2 separate regions of the Homo sapiens genome follow, and region 2 is linked to region 1. Evidence: promoter capture Hi-C in 16 types of primary human blood cells and fetal thymus (Javierre and others, 2016). All regions are on one chromosome and are shown on one strand. Each heading gives the region's core, a stretch centred on a gene start or on the middle of the fragment in contact. The rest is flanking DNA. Distances are from core to core; before and after follow the strand shown.

Region 1 (7,208 bases), core at 3,158-5,657:
TTTAGCTTAAATTGTTAAAATGATTTATTGATGTCTGTTTGTAGGATGCCAAAGAAGACCATGAAAGAACACATCAAATGGTCTTACTGAGAAAGCTTTGTCTGCCAATGTTGTGTTTTCTGCTTCATACGATATTGCACAGTACTGGTCAGTATCAGGAATGCCTACAGTTAGCAGATATGGTATCCTCTGAGCGCCACAAACTGTACCTGGTAAGTTCTAGAGCCTTGTAGTTTTAAATTTTAATGATTTGATATGCTCTGTAGTAATATTAATTTTGTGAAGATGTGTTTACATTTGTAATTGCTCTTGGATTTTCTTAAAGTAATAGTCCAGTTTTAATGTTTTAATGTTTGTACTTTTTTCCCAAAATGTGTGTATATTTGTAAGCAGTTAGAAATATATAGACTGACTCTGAGAATTCACCTTGAAATTCCTGAACCACTCTAATTTACTAGGCTCTGGCTACATAAATCTTAAAGAGGCATTTCTTCTTATATGAAGCTAATCAGATCGATTAGGTAACTAAGTTCATACTTGTCTACTTGTCTTTGTTCTCATTCTTATTTCTCTTTTTAAAAATCAGGTATTTTCTAAGGAAGAGCTAAGGAAGTTGCTGCAGAAGCTCAGAGAGTCCTCTCTAATGCTCCTAGACCAGGGACTTGACCCATTAGGGTATGAAATTCAGTTATAGTTTAATCTTTGTAATCTCACTAATTTTCATGATAAATGAAGTTTTTAATAAAATATACTTGTTATTAGTAATTTTTTCTTTTGCATTACCATGTAAAATTTAGACATTTGAATTTTGTACTTTTCAGAATATTATCGTGACACTTTCAACATGTAGGGATATCAGCGTTTCTCTGTGTGCTTGTTAATAAAACTATATAAAAATTAAAATTTTCTGTTTTTACAAATTCCAGGGTTGTCTCTTTTTCATGTAATAAGAAAATTAAATTTTCTGTTCTAGTTTTTTCTGTAATCATAAGCATTCTGATATTTTAAAATCATAAAGATGATGGAAAGTAGATTTATTTTTAAGCCAGGTACGTAATTTTTTATTTATCATAAAATTTAGTATTTTTGAATATTAAAATTAAGAAGATGACTATAACAAGAATTTTTCTAACATAACATGCTATTATTATTTTAGTTATTTTGAAGACATTTCTAGTTTAACTTTCATTTAGCAAACTTCCTATCAAAATAAGAGCATATAAAGACTTAGCGTAGTACCTGGCACACAGTAAGCACTGAATATATTGGAGATTACAGATCCCGCTCTTCTAATAGGGGAAATACCATAAGTACATTTAAAAGGTGTCATTTAAAAATACAAGTAGTGGCTGGGTGCAGTGGCTCACGTCTGTAACCCCAGCACTTCGGGAGGCCGAGGCAGGTGGATCACCTGTCGTCAGGAGTTTGAGACCAGCCTGGCCAACATGGTGAAACCCTGTCTCTACTAAAAAAATACAAAAATTAGCCGGGCATGGTGGCAGGTGCCTGTAATCCCAGCTACTCAGGGGAGGCTGAGGCATGAGAATCTCTTGAACCTGGAAGGCAGAGGTTGCAGTGAGCCGAGATCACGCCACTGCACTCCAGCCTTGGGGACAGAGCGAGACACTGTCTCCAAAAAAAGAAAGAATTACAAGTAGTCTGAGCAGGAAGAACCTCTCTCCAGCTGAAAAGACTCTCAGGAAGTAGTATTGGTTTGGGGTTTGAGTAATGCACTGAATTTGCAAAGGCAAAGAGTGACACAAGAAGGATGAGGCTCTATAGATTAAGAAATCAGTATGAGCAAGAAATGATAAATGCTGGGCATTATTATGAACCAACAAATACACCAAATAGGCTAGAGTGTAGGGCTTATAAACAGGAGACAACTAAAAGAATGTGATTCTAATAGAAAACAGTAATTCCCCAAACTTGCTAATCATCTAAGGAATTTCTTGAATATGTATTTATAGATGCCACCCCTAGAGACAGCTGGCTTGGGAAGCCTGAGATGGGATCATAGAATTTGATCAGTTCTATATTATGTGCTTTTTTTGTTTTATTTCTCTAAAGAATTCATCTTGTCTTCCTGTTTTCTTTATTCTTACTAATATGCAAATGATTTTTACAGCTCATGCAGTCCTGTAATCATGATTATTGCTATGCTACTTTGCAAAAAATAAAAACAAAAAATTCATACCAAAACAAATACAGACTAGATTTGGGGTGGGGAGGGGAAATAAGTGAGTCTTAAAAGTAGTTTTGTTACTTGCAACAAACTGTATATATAGAAACTTTGTACAACCCAGGGTGACTATTTCCAAAGACTGTTACCTATTTGTTGAACAACAGTGGGAAAACTACTTAGCCTAAATGAGGAGGAGGAATATTGTATGCTTCCATCGTAACCGTATGTGGGTAAATGGACAAGGTCTGTCATCTATTTAGGAACTTGTTTTGCATGTCCCCCACTCTGTATTTGTCTTTTGTTGTGCCTTGTTTTTTGAATGTCCTTTAAAAAACACAGCACAGAAACCCACTAAGGTTGTGGAATTACAAAATTCCTTCAACCTTAGACTCTTAATTAGGATGCCCTCAAATGGACTTGTTTTTAATTTTTATTTATTTATTTATTTTTGAGACATGGTCTTGCTCTGTCTCCCAGGCCGGAGTGCAGTGGCATGATATCTCACTGCAAACCTCCGCCTCCTGGGTTCAAGCGATTCTCCTGCCTCAGCCTCCCTAGTAGCTGGGATTACAGGCGCCTGCCACCACGCCTGGCTAATTTTTGTATTTTTAGTAGAGACGGGGTTTTGCCATGTTGGCCAGGCTGGTCTCAAACTCTTGACCTCAAGTGATCCACTCGCCTCGATCTCTCAAAGTGCTGGGATTACAGGCATAAGCCACTGCACCCAGCCAATTGGACTCCTTTGAGTCCTTAGGGAGTCAATGTGTGTGTTGCTGCTTATTTAAATACAGTTCAGTTGGAGCCCCAAGAGTGCCAATGTGCTCCTCACAATTCCCAAATGCCTCTCTTCCTGAACACCAGAAGTGGTGGGCACCTGAGTGGGAAATTTCAGGCAACTTAATTTAGTTCCTCAGTGCCTACTCTTGAAGAACTGGGTTTTCATTCTAGAGAGGAAACTCAGGGAAGGGCGTGTTGCCTATCACAGGTTCGCATACTAAGTTTTAAAAACTTTTCTTGGTGTGACTTATGCCAAGGAATTATGAAGACTTTTTCCTTGAGCATTGCATGAAGGCTACAAAGTTGGAACAGGCATGTCCTGGGTGTGAAAGTTTTAATTTCCCTACCTCATTTATTTATTTAATTTAGAGATGGGGGTCTCACTATGTTGCCCATCCCGGCTTCCAACTCCTGGGCTCAAGCAATCCTCCCACGTCAGTCTCTCAAATAGCTGGGACTACAGGCCCACGCCACCATGCCCTACTTCCTCATTTATTTTAAATTTTTTGTACCACAGTCTCTCTTTTTAATTTTATGACTGCTGAATTAATCCTAGACTCTGTCTTAAAACTAAGAATTGATGTATTGGCAGGAACAGCTGGACATTCAAGATGTTTTTGTGATTCCTTTTTTAAAAATCTCCTTTTGTACCTGTAATATCTACAATATATAATCTTTCTTTATCGACTTAAGGAGGAAGGAGAAAGGAAGAACCTGACTTCTGTGTGAAGGACCTTACTGTCGATCAAGACTGTTACTCAAAGTTCTATCTCTTAGTCATTGCACCTGACCTGATCCAAAACATATATATATATTTGTATGCACCCCTAGAGACAGCTGTATATATATACGGTTTTGCCAGGTTGTACGTTTTTTTCTCGAGTTGTAAGTGAACACAGTAGCACTCGTTTACATTGTCAAGGGGACATCTTTAGAGAACACATTTTCTCACTGTTGAGCTAATAATGCTTTGTGAATGTATGATCTAAGGAGAAACCCTTGTAGTTATACCCGATGATGCTGTCTGTTGGAAAGTAAATTTTGAATGTCTTTTTCCAAAAATAAAAAATAAAAACATGCTTTCAATAAGTTCTTTCCCCCCTCTGGCGAGGGCTACTAAATTTGCTCAGCATTTAATACGTAAAATTGGCTAACAGTGTCTGCACAGCCAGAGAGAAGTTGTCTAGCAAATCGGGTCAATGACACACAGGAAACAAACATCAAGAAAGGGGTCCTAGATTGGTCCAGTCAGGTAGGCGTTAGGTGACCAAGGGGGTCGGGGACCCAGAGGATAGGACCCAAAGACGCAAGCGTCGCGCGCCCAAGGCTCAGCGCGCCTGCGCAGGGTAGCGGCCGTTCAGCCAGCGGCTCGGGGGCGGAAGCACTGGAGCCCCGAGTCACGTGGCTGCGGGCGGAGATGAGCGGGGCGTGGGACGTGCTGCGGCGTCCTAGCTGGCTTACAGGGCGGCGGCGGGGTGTGTGTCCTCTGTTAAGAGTGCTACTCGCCCGGGGTTGATCTGTGCATGCCACTCCTGGGTCAGACGGTGAGGTCGGCGTCTGCGAGGACGCGGCGGTGGAGTAGAAGGGCAGCCGGAGACAGGCCCGGCGCCCCTTCCGAGGCTAGACGGCCCCAGCTTCGCGGGGATCATGGCATTGCTGGTGGACCGAGTGCGGGGCCACTGGCGAATCGCCGCCGGGCTCCTGTTCAACCTGCTGGTGTCCATCTGCATTGTGTTCCTCAACAAATGGATTTATGTGTACCACGGCTTCCCCAACATGAGCCTGACCCTGGTGCACTTCGTGGTCACCTGGCTGGGCTTGTATATCTGCCAGAAGCTGGACATCTTTGCCCCCAAAAGTCTGCCGCCCTCCAGGCTCCTCCTCCTGGCCCTCAGCTTCTGTGGCTTTGTGGTCTTCACTAACCTTTCTCTGCAGAACAACACCATAGGCACCTATCAGCTGGCCAAGGCCATGACCACGCCGGTGATCATAGCCATCCAGACCTTCTGCTACCAGAAAACCTTCTCCACCAGAATCCAGCTCACGCTGGTGAGTAGCTTCAGCTTCCCAAGGCGCCGCTCTCCCGACCCACCTCCTGCACTGGCCCCGGGAAATTCGAACGCACACTGGTCTTTCCCTTCATCTTGAAATCCACAAATGAGTCATCTGTGGGCATGTGAACTTTTAGGCTTATTTTAGGGAGGGGGAAAAGGCCATCTTGTCAGCCCAGAAGAGTGGGCATGTGTGAATTTTAGTAGCTGCCATTTGATGGAAATCGTTAAATGCTGTGATCGATAAGAAAAAAAGCTGTATTGGGTGGTACAGTCCAGTGTTATCAGAATATCTGCAAAAGCTCAAACAAAAACAGCCTTTCTCCCCCAGGGGAATCAAATCGTGTATGATAAAACGTGAAAAGATGTAGCATAAAGTAGGTCTCAAAACGTCTGCAGCACCATACTTTAGAGCTGTCTGCATCTTTAAATAAAAGGAGGTGGACTCAATTTTAGCACTTAGTAACTTATTTAAGGTCTTTTTCTTTTTTTTTTTTTTCTTTTTGAGACGGAATTTCACTCTTGTTGCCCAGGCTGGAGTGCAATGGCACGATCTCGGCTCACCGCAACCTCCGCCTCCCGGGTTTAAGCGATTCTCCTGCCTCAGCCTCCCGAGTAGCTGGGATTACAGGCATGCGCCACCACGCCCGGCTAATTTTGTATTTTTAGTAAAGACGGGGTTTCTCCATGTTAATCAGGCTGGTCTCGAACTCTGACCTCAGGTGATCTGCCCGCCTTGGCCTCCGAAAGCGCTGGGGTTACAGTGGTGAGCCACCGTGCCTGGCCTTATATTTAAGGTCTTTATGCTTTTATTGTTTTATATTTATGCTTATGCTGTTTAGACACTAGTTTGGGGATCCATTTACTCACCTTTGTATTCATGTGGTATTTTCTTGCAAAGTGCAATATATTTACCACAAATTTAGAATGGAATTAAATGTGAATATCAATATAGATTTGTCATATTTCACGTTTAGGAAATAGGATTAACAACTAGTTTTCCCAAGTCAAAACAGAAAACATTTATACAGGTTCATTGTTTCCCAGTTATGTGTTTATCATTAGCCTTGTAAGACATTGTGAAAGGAATACTAAATTTTTGTCTCTTGAATTTAATCTGAACAACATTTACCTCTTTTTCGTTACAGATTCCTATAACTTTAGGTGTAATCCTAAATTCTTATTACGATGTGAAGTTTAATTTCCTTGGAATGGTGTTTGCTGCTCTTGGTGTTTTAGTTACATCCCTTTATCAAGTGGTTGGTAATTTTTTTTTCTTTATGTGCCTTTTTAGCAGATTTCATAAATTTTGAAGCTGTATTCCAAGGTTTAGAAAATACAGTATAGAGACAATAGACTGTTGGGAAGAAAGCATAATTGCATAAGTTGTCTGACTCAAGGTGAAGAGAAGAAAGGAGACAGAGAAACTTGGGTGTGTGATGCTCACCAAATACCTACCTGTTTGTAAGTGTATAATATCCATGCTTAACAGTCTCAGCTTGGGGTGAAGTTATTTTCTGGGAAATCTTTACAAAATACCTAGTAAGACTTTTTACTTCCTAAGTTTGTTATGTTTTCTGTTTACTCTTTACTTTTAACATTGTTGTGAAGGAGTGAGTATACTTCCAGAAATCTGAACAGTAATGAAAAATTTCAGATTTTTAGATGTTTTTGCCTCAAAAATTATACTGCTGTTACAACTTGTTTATTGGCTTTTAATAATGTGTCTAATATAGATTATTACAATATTATACTCTATATTAATAAATATAGAGTAATTTATATTAATGAATATTTTTCCATTTGTGCAAGCGCAGTGCCTTGCCTATAGCAGATATTCATTAAAAATATGTTCATGGATTCACTTACTTCATTACCATAAAATCCTAACAAGTATGGTTTTTGATTCTTATTTAGTGGAGAAAAAATAACTTGCTGTAGGGGACAGTGAAACGGTATTCTCTCTATACTGAAAACCTTGGTCTGGAAATTCTGGGTGTGCCTGCATGGGGAATCAAAGCCAAAATGTGTAACCAATTTTATTTTTTTCACAAACATCCACTGGTTATTAAACTAAGGCATTCTTGTTTGAAATTTTAGGAGTTCAGTAATAGAGCCCTGGCATCTTAAACATTCTAGTAGTGATCATGTCAGAGACAGTATTTGAAAATATTCTGCAGTGAAATACATTTTCT
Region 2 (7,740 bases), core at 4,828-7,327, 840 kb after region 1:
TTACTGTTAGTCTGTAACAGGGTTGCCCTTGTCCAGTATTTATTTATAAGCTGTTTACTTTTCAAGTTGATAAAAACATTCTCCAATTCTAAATTTGCTTGTGTCCATAGGTGATCTCTTTAGCAAACTGAGAAAAAAAGGAAGCTACTTTTAACATGCAAAGTTCCCTCAAGGTGTACCGTGTTGTCTCTGTGGGCACTCTTCCCCAGCACTTTAGCAGTAATTCCCCCAGCTACACGCTGCAGTTGTACTCTGCCCACTCTAGTGTTCCTCAGCTCTGCTGTCCTTTTACTTGTAGCTGGATCTTTGATTATCCTTCGATTTCCATGAAATATTAATATTGTTGCCAGCATAGCAGGTACAGTGGAAGTCTTGTAGCAGTGAGATTGTATCATAATTTAGGATTTAAAATGAATTAAAGTTTATATAAACTGAAGAGTCTCCATATGTCAAACTCTTGGAAAATCAAAGATGTTCCAATTTCCTAAACACTAGAGAATACGAGAGAAGGTAGAGTGGAAAAGGTTAGGTAACCTTGCAAAATATTTTACTATTTTCTCTAAATATGAGGAAGTTTGAGATTATGATCTGGATCTACCAGATATAACTAAGGTTAATTTAGCATGAAAAAGTTTTAGTCATATTGGCATCCAACCTATTCAGTAACCGAATCATAGGACAATGATGGATTAGGAGAACAATAGAGTGGGATCATTATAAAGAAAATAAATTATTAAAGGTGTCTTTATCGTTTTAGTGCCATTTTTAGTGTCTTTACTATAAATCAATATCAGTGTATTTTATCATTCTATGTGCATAGCAGAATTTTCTTTTCTCCCTTTTGTTCCCCTGTGAACTTGGTGCTTATTAAAGTGCTCACTGTTCTCTTAAAAGAGAGCAGTGGTATAGGTGTGCAGTTTCCATGATGCAGGTTCCATTTTTAATATATTGTTCCACTTATCCTTTCTTCTGAGTAAATTGCTAATTGTGCCAAATTTATGTAATAGTTTTTGTAATGTGGAATAAGAATTATGATGGAACCATTGCACATTTTTTTCTGAAACAGCCAGTCAAGGCAGAACATTAATCTCCAAATGCAAGGGCTGATCTATTTATTCATTTTGGAGGTTGGGTACTTTATTCTTTCTTTCCGTCATCCTTTTCATTGTTTCCCCCGGATTCTAATTAGTTTTTATTTTTTTTAGATAACTCCAATATAATCATTACAGTTTATGCTTTAAATACTATGTGCTTTAAAAAGGAAAATGGGACCAATTTGTCTGCTAAGAATTTGATTTTAGGTACTATAAGAGTATTAGGAAAATATATACAACTGGTGTTAATTTCTAGATATTTTCTAGAAATCACTTGTGTTCCTATTTAATAAAAGGTAATTTAGAATACTACTTGTCCTTTGCAGTAGTTTAGTAATGGGCATTAAGCTGTGTCCTCGAAGGATGTACCTATTACTAGGTGCATTTTAGAATGAAATATTGATATTTTATTAGCATATAATTGTGGCCATATATCTCAGATTTTCTGAGGCAGATCTAATTTTAGATAATTCTGTTGGTAGACCATGTGATCCTTCTTTTTGGTTTTGGAAATATAATCATTGTTAATGTTTTCCCTCCAAATAGAATACTGTTTTATCCATACAAATCATAACAGCATCTATCCCATGCTAGGGTTGGAAACTGATATTGGTATTACTTGTGTTTTTTCTTAGTGTGTTTTATTTCCCAGTTTCATCTTCTTCTAAAAATGAAAATATGGTGCCTTCCCTCCCTCCAGGAAGACTGGCAAATATTTCCTTTTATTTACTGCTGCTGTGGAGTGATGAGATATGCACTTTACTCTTTAAGATTCAGCAAAAAGCTTTTCACTTCTCAGTATATCCAGAATACATCATATCTGGGACTTAGGAAAATTTGCCAAGCAATCTTTGTTTTTATAGATACTAATGTTGACCCTCTCCAGCGTTCAATGTTATAAATAGAACAAGTCAAGCTAGTGTTTATCTCCTCCCCCTCCCCAAAACTGTGGCACAGCATATAAAAATGTACCTCAATAATGTTCTATTAAAAATGGGACAGGGGCCTTATGTTTTCATAATTTCCCAACAATGTGCCGCCATATTTTTGCCTCAAGGTAAAGGTTTTAACAGATGAAAAAGTACTTCCCAATTCCCCCGTGCTATTCCTAACCTATAATGCCCAAATGTTTTGTGCAATGTGTAGTGTGTGTGTATAAATACATATATTCTTGAAATAGACATACCATCAGAGACATCATTCACAAGTAACTGATGTATTGGCATCTCATTCATATTTCTGATGTGTGAGGTATATGGTACTAATTACCTTTTCCTTGATGTTTGCCAAATTTGAATAAAGGCATTGGTACGAAATTACAGAATGTAAAGAAAATGTTTTTGGCTTGAAAAATTAACATATTTTATGACGTACCACAGTATACTCTGCCCAAACCAGCACCCTATCTATCTTTCCTGTTCTTTACATCCCTGTTCCCCATCCCTACTTCCTCATTTTTGGTATAACACAGTTCTTTTGTAGCATCATTATAATTGCAGTTCTATGGCAATTGGACAGTTATAGCATGGAAACAGACTGGTATAAGTAGTACAGTAGTCACCAGTGTGCCACATTTGCATTAGTAATGCAAAATATACATTTTATAAAGGACAAACTTTGTGTTATGTTTTATTTTCATTACATTGTATAATATTGTAAGACTATTGTATGTCCTAATTTGCATTATAAATGTTTTTTTCCTACGTAAAGGCATAAATATAGCAACTTTGTATAAAGGTAGCTTATTAGATTTTTAATTTTTTCTTTTATAAAAAATTGTCCAACAGTGGGACTACCATTGCCAAATTGTATATGAAATATGAATTTTACCCCCATGGTTAATTTCTTTTATAAACATTCCATATTTCTCTAATAAAAAGACATAAGTGATACTGTACTATGCATACATTGTATCTTAATGCTGTTTCAGATCAGCATTTTAAATTTTGGTTTGCATTTTTAATATTGGCAAAACGTAACCACTGTTAATTAAAATAAAACCTTGTTGTATATGTAACAACATAATTTTCCCTCTATCCCTTCCCACCCTTTGTTCTCTATTTCTCCCTATCAGTGCCAACTTCATACATTTTGTAGCATGGCAATAAAATATAACTTTTACACTGAGGCCGAGTGTGGCTTTTTGGAGGAAGTGGGGATGGGACGATTGCCCTCTAGTTGTCCTTTGCATATGACTGTTTTTTGCCATATAAGCCATGTCATCAGGCATGAAAAGTTTTCTCATATATGATGTAAACTTGCTTTTAAGGACAAGTGTGAATGTGCTTTTTAAGCTTAATTTTTGTCATGACAACTAATTTTTTTTATCTTTGGAGAAGTCAGAGTTCTTTACAATCAAACGTTTATTAACTGGAGTACTTAGAATAAGCTAGTAATTGAATTTAGTTCAAGGGCTAAGCAACACATTTTTAAATCCTTATTTATTGTAGAGTATTAGTATACTGTCCTACAAATTATGTAAAATATGGTTTAATATTAGATGACTTTGGATTTTGCAATGCCTTACTGTTGTCATTCTAGCATAAATATCCATAATGAGGTACTCAAGTTGATACTGGAAGCTGAGCTGATCATACACTGACCTGAAGCATTCATGAAAAGCTGCTTTATTGAATAAAGTCTGATTGGAGTTCTTTTCATGCTCACTTTCCCCTTATTGCTGAAAGTAGATTGCAATAAAACCCCAATAAAACGTTTGGTCGGATATCTACTTAAAAGTTTTATTGTATTTATATTTCACATACTACTTGAAACTTTGTGACATTTTCTTTCCTAGTCTCATATCACTGCCTCCATTTTCAAAATGAAGATATCAAAATGAAATTGTAACTATATGACAGGCTTTCTCACAGTTTTAGCTGTGTGATCATTCCAAATAGTAGTTCTCAGCTCTGGGACTTCAAACCTGTTTTTAGCCACTGAGTGACATTGCAAAGCCTTAGTTGAGTACAGGTCAAGATGGAAATTATTTAAACAATGAAGGAGATGGACATGTCCACAAGTGATTGATGTAACTGGCATGATAAAGACACACACAAAGGAAGGGCATCCAACTCAGCCTAGGGGTGGAGGTTTTCAAGCAAAGCTTCTTAGAGGGGGTGATCCCTGAGGTGGTTTGTTGAAAGTCTTTGTAGCTTAGAGAGGATGTCTTAGGGAGAAGGGATAGCATGTGCAAAGGCACAGAGGTATAGAAAGATCATGACATTCAGTGGTTGCAAGAGGTTCCAAATGACTAAGCGCATGGAGAGCAAAGGCAGGGTTGGGGGATACAGAAGAAAGGAGAAATGAGAAACAGATCACAGAATCCTAAGGAGCTTTTGTTTAAATTAGGTGAGAGAACTTGAAGGATTTTAAACACCAGAAAAATAATAGTTTAGAAAGATTTCTCTGACAACATGGATACGTGAAGGGCGCAGTATTTTTTTTTTTTTTTTTTTTTTTTTTTTTGAGACGGAGTCTCTCCCTGTTGCCCAGGCTGGATGGAGTGCAGTGGCGCCATCTCGGCTCACTGCAAGCTCCCCCTCCCAGGTTCATGCCATTCTCCTGGCTCTGCCTCCCAAGTAGCTGGCCCTACGGTATTTTAATAAAGCAGGGAGACTGGTTGAGAGGCTTTTTCAGAAATGGAGCCAGATCTGATAAATCCGTATTCAAAGGCATTGTTAAAGGACTGTTTAGATTGTTTACTGCTGTGCAACAAACCACCCTAAAAGTTAGTGGCTTAAAGCAGCAATCATTTAATGTCTCAAGTTGCTATAGATCGAGATGGGCAGGGCACAGCAGAGATGGCTCATCTCACATGATGTCTGGAGGCCTGGCTTCCTCATATGCTTTGTGCCTATGCTAGTATGATTCAAGCAGCTGAGGGCTGGCTGGACCAGTTCCACTAGGTTATGTCTGGAACTTAAAGCTCTCAGCTGTGTTCCTTAGTTTTCTTCCATGAAGTCTTGGGTCTTTCTTCATGTGGTCTTCTTACATGGCAGCTTAGGGTTCCCAAGAGCACAAAAGTAGATGCTGCTAGGCTTTCTTGAGGCCTAAGCCCAGAACTGGCACAATGTCAATTCTGTTGTATTTTGTTGAATTACAGTGGCTCATATAAAAGCATGAACATCAAAAGTGTAGTTTATTCAGGGCCACCAATGTAATAGAGGGCCTAAAGGAGGAAGAATTAACACCTCTGATTGATAAGGGGAATGACAGAAATGGAGGGGTCAAGGATGACCCCCAGTTATCTGGTTTGGGTGACTGAGATGGTTGATGGTGTCAGTTCATTGAGATTTAAGATATATTTGGGGGCTGGGCATGGTGGCTCATGCCCGTAATCCCAGCACTTTGGGAGGCTGTGGAGGGTGGATCACTTCAGCCCAGAAGTTTGAGACCAGCCTGGGCAACATGGTGAAAACCTGTTTCTATGAAAAAATACAAAAATCAACTGGCGTGGTGGTGTGTGCTTGTAGTCCCAGCTACTCAAGAGACTGAGGCAGGAGGATAGATTAAGCCTGGGAGGTTGAGGCTGCAATGAACTGTGATCCTGCCACTGTGGTCCAGCCTGGGCAACATAATGAGACCCTGTTTTTTTTTTTTTTAAAGTGCTCCTCTAAGTGTGCTCCACAGACTGATTCCTGTGTACAAACTATCACGGTCTGCAACAGGAGAAATATCAAGTCTTCTAACCTTCTCCCTACTACCCAAACAGTAGGTGTCTGGGTGGACCCAACTTAATGTGACTGTGGACTCCTGGTCCTTTATTTGGTTTCCTTCCCCAGGTATTCTAACTGTTCCTGAGGAATGTTGACAAGTCCCATAACTCTGTTCTGGTGGTTGTTTGCCACTTCGCCAGTTATTTCACTCCAGTTAATGAATCTACCCTTGCTCCCAAATCACCTCTAGCCATCAAATAATGATATGCTACAGTGCTTTCCTACTTCCATAACATGCCAAGCATATCCAACCTCGGCTACTATATTTATAAAGCCTATTAGAAGACTTGGGATATAATGATAACAATAGCTAAGCTAAACAGGCACTGTTCTAAGCTATTTAATCTGTGATAATTATCTCCATTTTACACAAAGGGAAATTGAGGCACAGAGAGATTATATAACTGGAAGCTGACCAGTTAACAAAAAGCCAATTCACTGAAAGCCAAATTATACCAAGGGGAAGAGAGAGGAGGACACAGGGTCATAGAGAGGAGAGGGTCACAAAGACTTTGAGGGAGGAGGAAGGGTTAACTAAGAGAAGCCAAGACCAAGGGACTTGAGAGTAGAGGACAGAAGATGAGCCAGGAGAAAGTCACACAACGTGTTTAATCACAGAAACATGGATTCCCAAGGTCTCACTATCTCCATAGGCCCTGTAACCTATCTAATACAAATTACGATAAAATGTATAAATAGATGGGCACAGTGGCTTCTGCCTGTAATTCCAGCACTTTGGGAGGCCAAGGTGGGCAGATCGCATGAATTCAGGAGTTCAAGACCAGCCTGAGAAACATGGCAAAATCCCGTCTCCACCAAAAATACAAAAAATTAGCTGGTGTGGTGGCGCATGCCTGTATTTCCAGCTACTCGGGAGACAGGTCGGAGGATCGCTTGAAGTCAGGAGGCAGAGGTTGCAGTGAGTGGAGATCACACCACTGCACTCCTGCCTGGGTGACAGAGTAAGACCCTGTCTCAATTAAAAAATATATATATAGGTGTGGTGGCTCATGCCTGTAATCCCAGCACTTTGGGAGACTGAGGTGGGCAGATTGCTTGAGGTCAGAAGTTCGAGACCACCCTGGCCAACATGGTTAAACCCTGTCTCTACTAAAAATACAAAAATTAGCCAGCTGTGGTGGTGCATGCCTGTAGTCCCAGCTATTTGGGAGGCTGAGGCAGGAGAATTGCTTGAACCCGGGAGGCGGAGGTTGCAGTGAGTTGAGATCATACCACTGCACTCCAGCCCGAGCGACAGAGTGAAACTCTGTTTCAACAACAACAACAACAACAAAAAAGTATAAACAGCTAAAAGAGACAGTTTTTGGTAAACCAGCACATTGATCACGCTCTGAATGGCCTTCAATGAACTGATTTAAAGAGCCTGTGAAACCCACCCAAGACTACAAAGCTAGTACGTAAAATGGTTGAAATTCAAACTCATATAGTCTGGGTCTAGAAGCTGAGTGTTTAGCCTCTAGGTGTAGAGGTGTCATCAAAGGAGGGGGAAGTAGGAAAGAAGGAAGGGTCAAAAGATGCAATGGAGAAAGGACACATTTCCAAGGGTCCCATCATAGAGTCTCTTCCTGGCTGCCTCTAGCCTCAGTTCCACAAGGTGGCAGGGCCTGCCTCCTTCTCCCCATCCAAATGCCTCTGGCTACATTCAAAGCCCAGCAGGGAGCAGTCATTGGTTTCCCCATCACACACAGTCTCAGGCTTGCCTACCAGAGGACATAATAAATATCTCCAGGTATGTAATTTTGCCCACAATAAAAACAACCTTTTTCAATATTGTGCAGGCATCTTAGTTTTTTATTGTGAATCTTCTCATTCCAGAATGCGATTTGGGATCTGCCTAGGAAAGTACATTTCCTGAAAGAAGACCAAATTTTCCTACAAAGAAGAGAAAACTCTTGGGAGATTTAAAA

Evidence for each region. The method cuts DNA at HindIII sites, captures the fragments that hold promoters and counts their contacts. A CHiCAGO score of 5 or more calls a contact.
Region 2: a fragment that was not itself captured here is called in contact with the fragment with the promoter of SLC35E3 in region 1 in 1 of 17 cell types (monocytes); the score reaches 5.4 in monocytes.

Annotation. Positions count from the first base shown.
Region 1 is chr12:68,741,769-68,748,976 of GRCh38, forward strand. It overlaps SLC35E3 (solute carrier family 35 member E3), which reads left to right and starts at 4,408. Exons shown (of 5, transcript NM_018656.5): 1 at 4,408-5,011; 2 at 6,162-6,272. The coding sequence starts at 4,610. NUP107 (nucleoporin 107) reads left to right here. Exons shown (of 28, transcript NM_020401.4): 27 at 45-212; 28 at 587-4,041. The coding sequence ends at 694. RefSeq lists enhancers at 4,081-4,771, 4,621-4,720, 4,771-4,880, 5,241-5,430. The HindIII fragment of the contact is 13,773 bases long and covers 94-7,208 here.
Region 2 is chr12:69,575,962-69,583,701 of GRCh38, forward strand. It overlaps FRS2 (fibroblast growth factor receptor substrate 2), which reads left to right. Exons shown (of 9, transcript NM_001278356.2): 9 at 1-3,832. Among named protein-coding and RNA genes, the nearest start is that of MIR3913-2, 4.9 kb to the right of the region's middle. The HindIII fragment of the contact is 3,759 bases long and covers 4,199-7,740 here.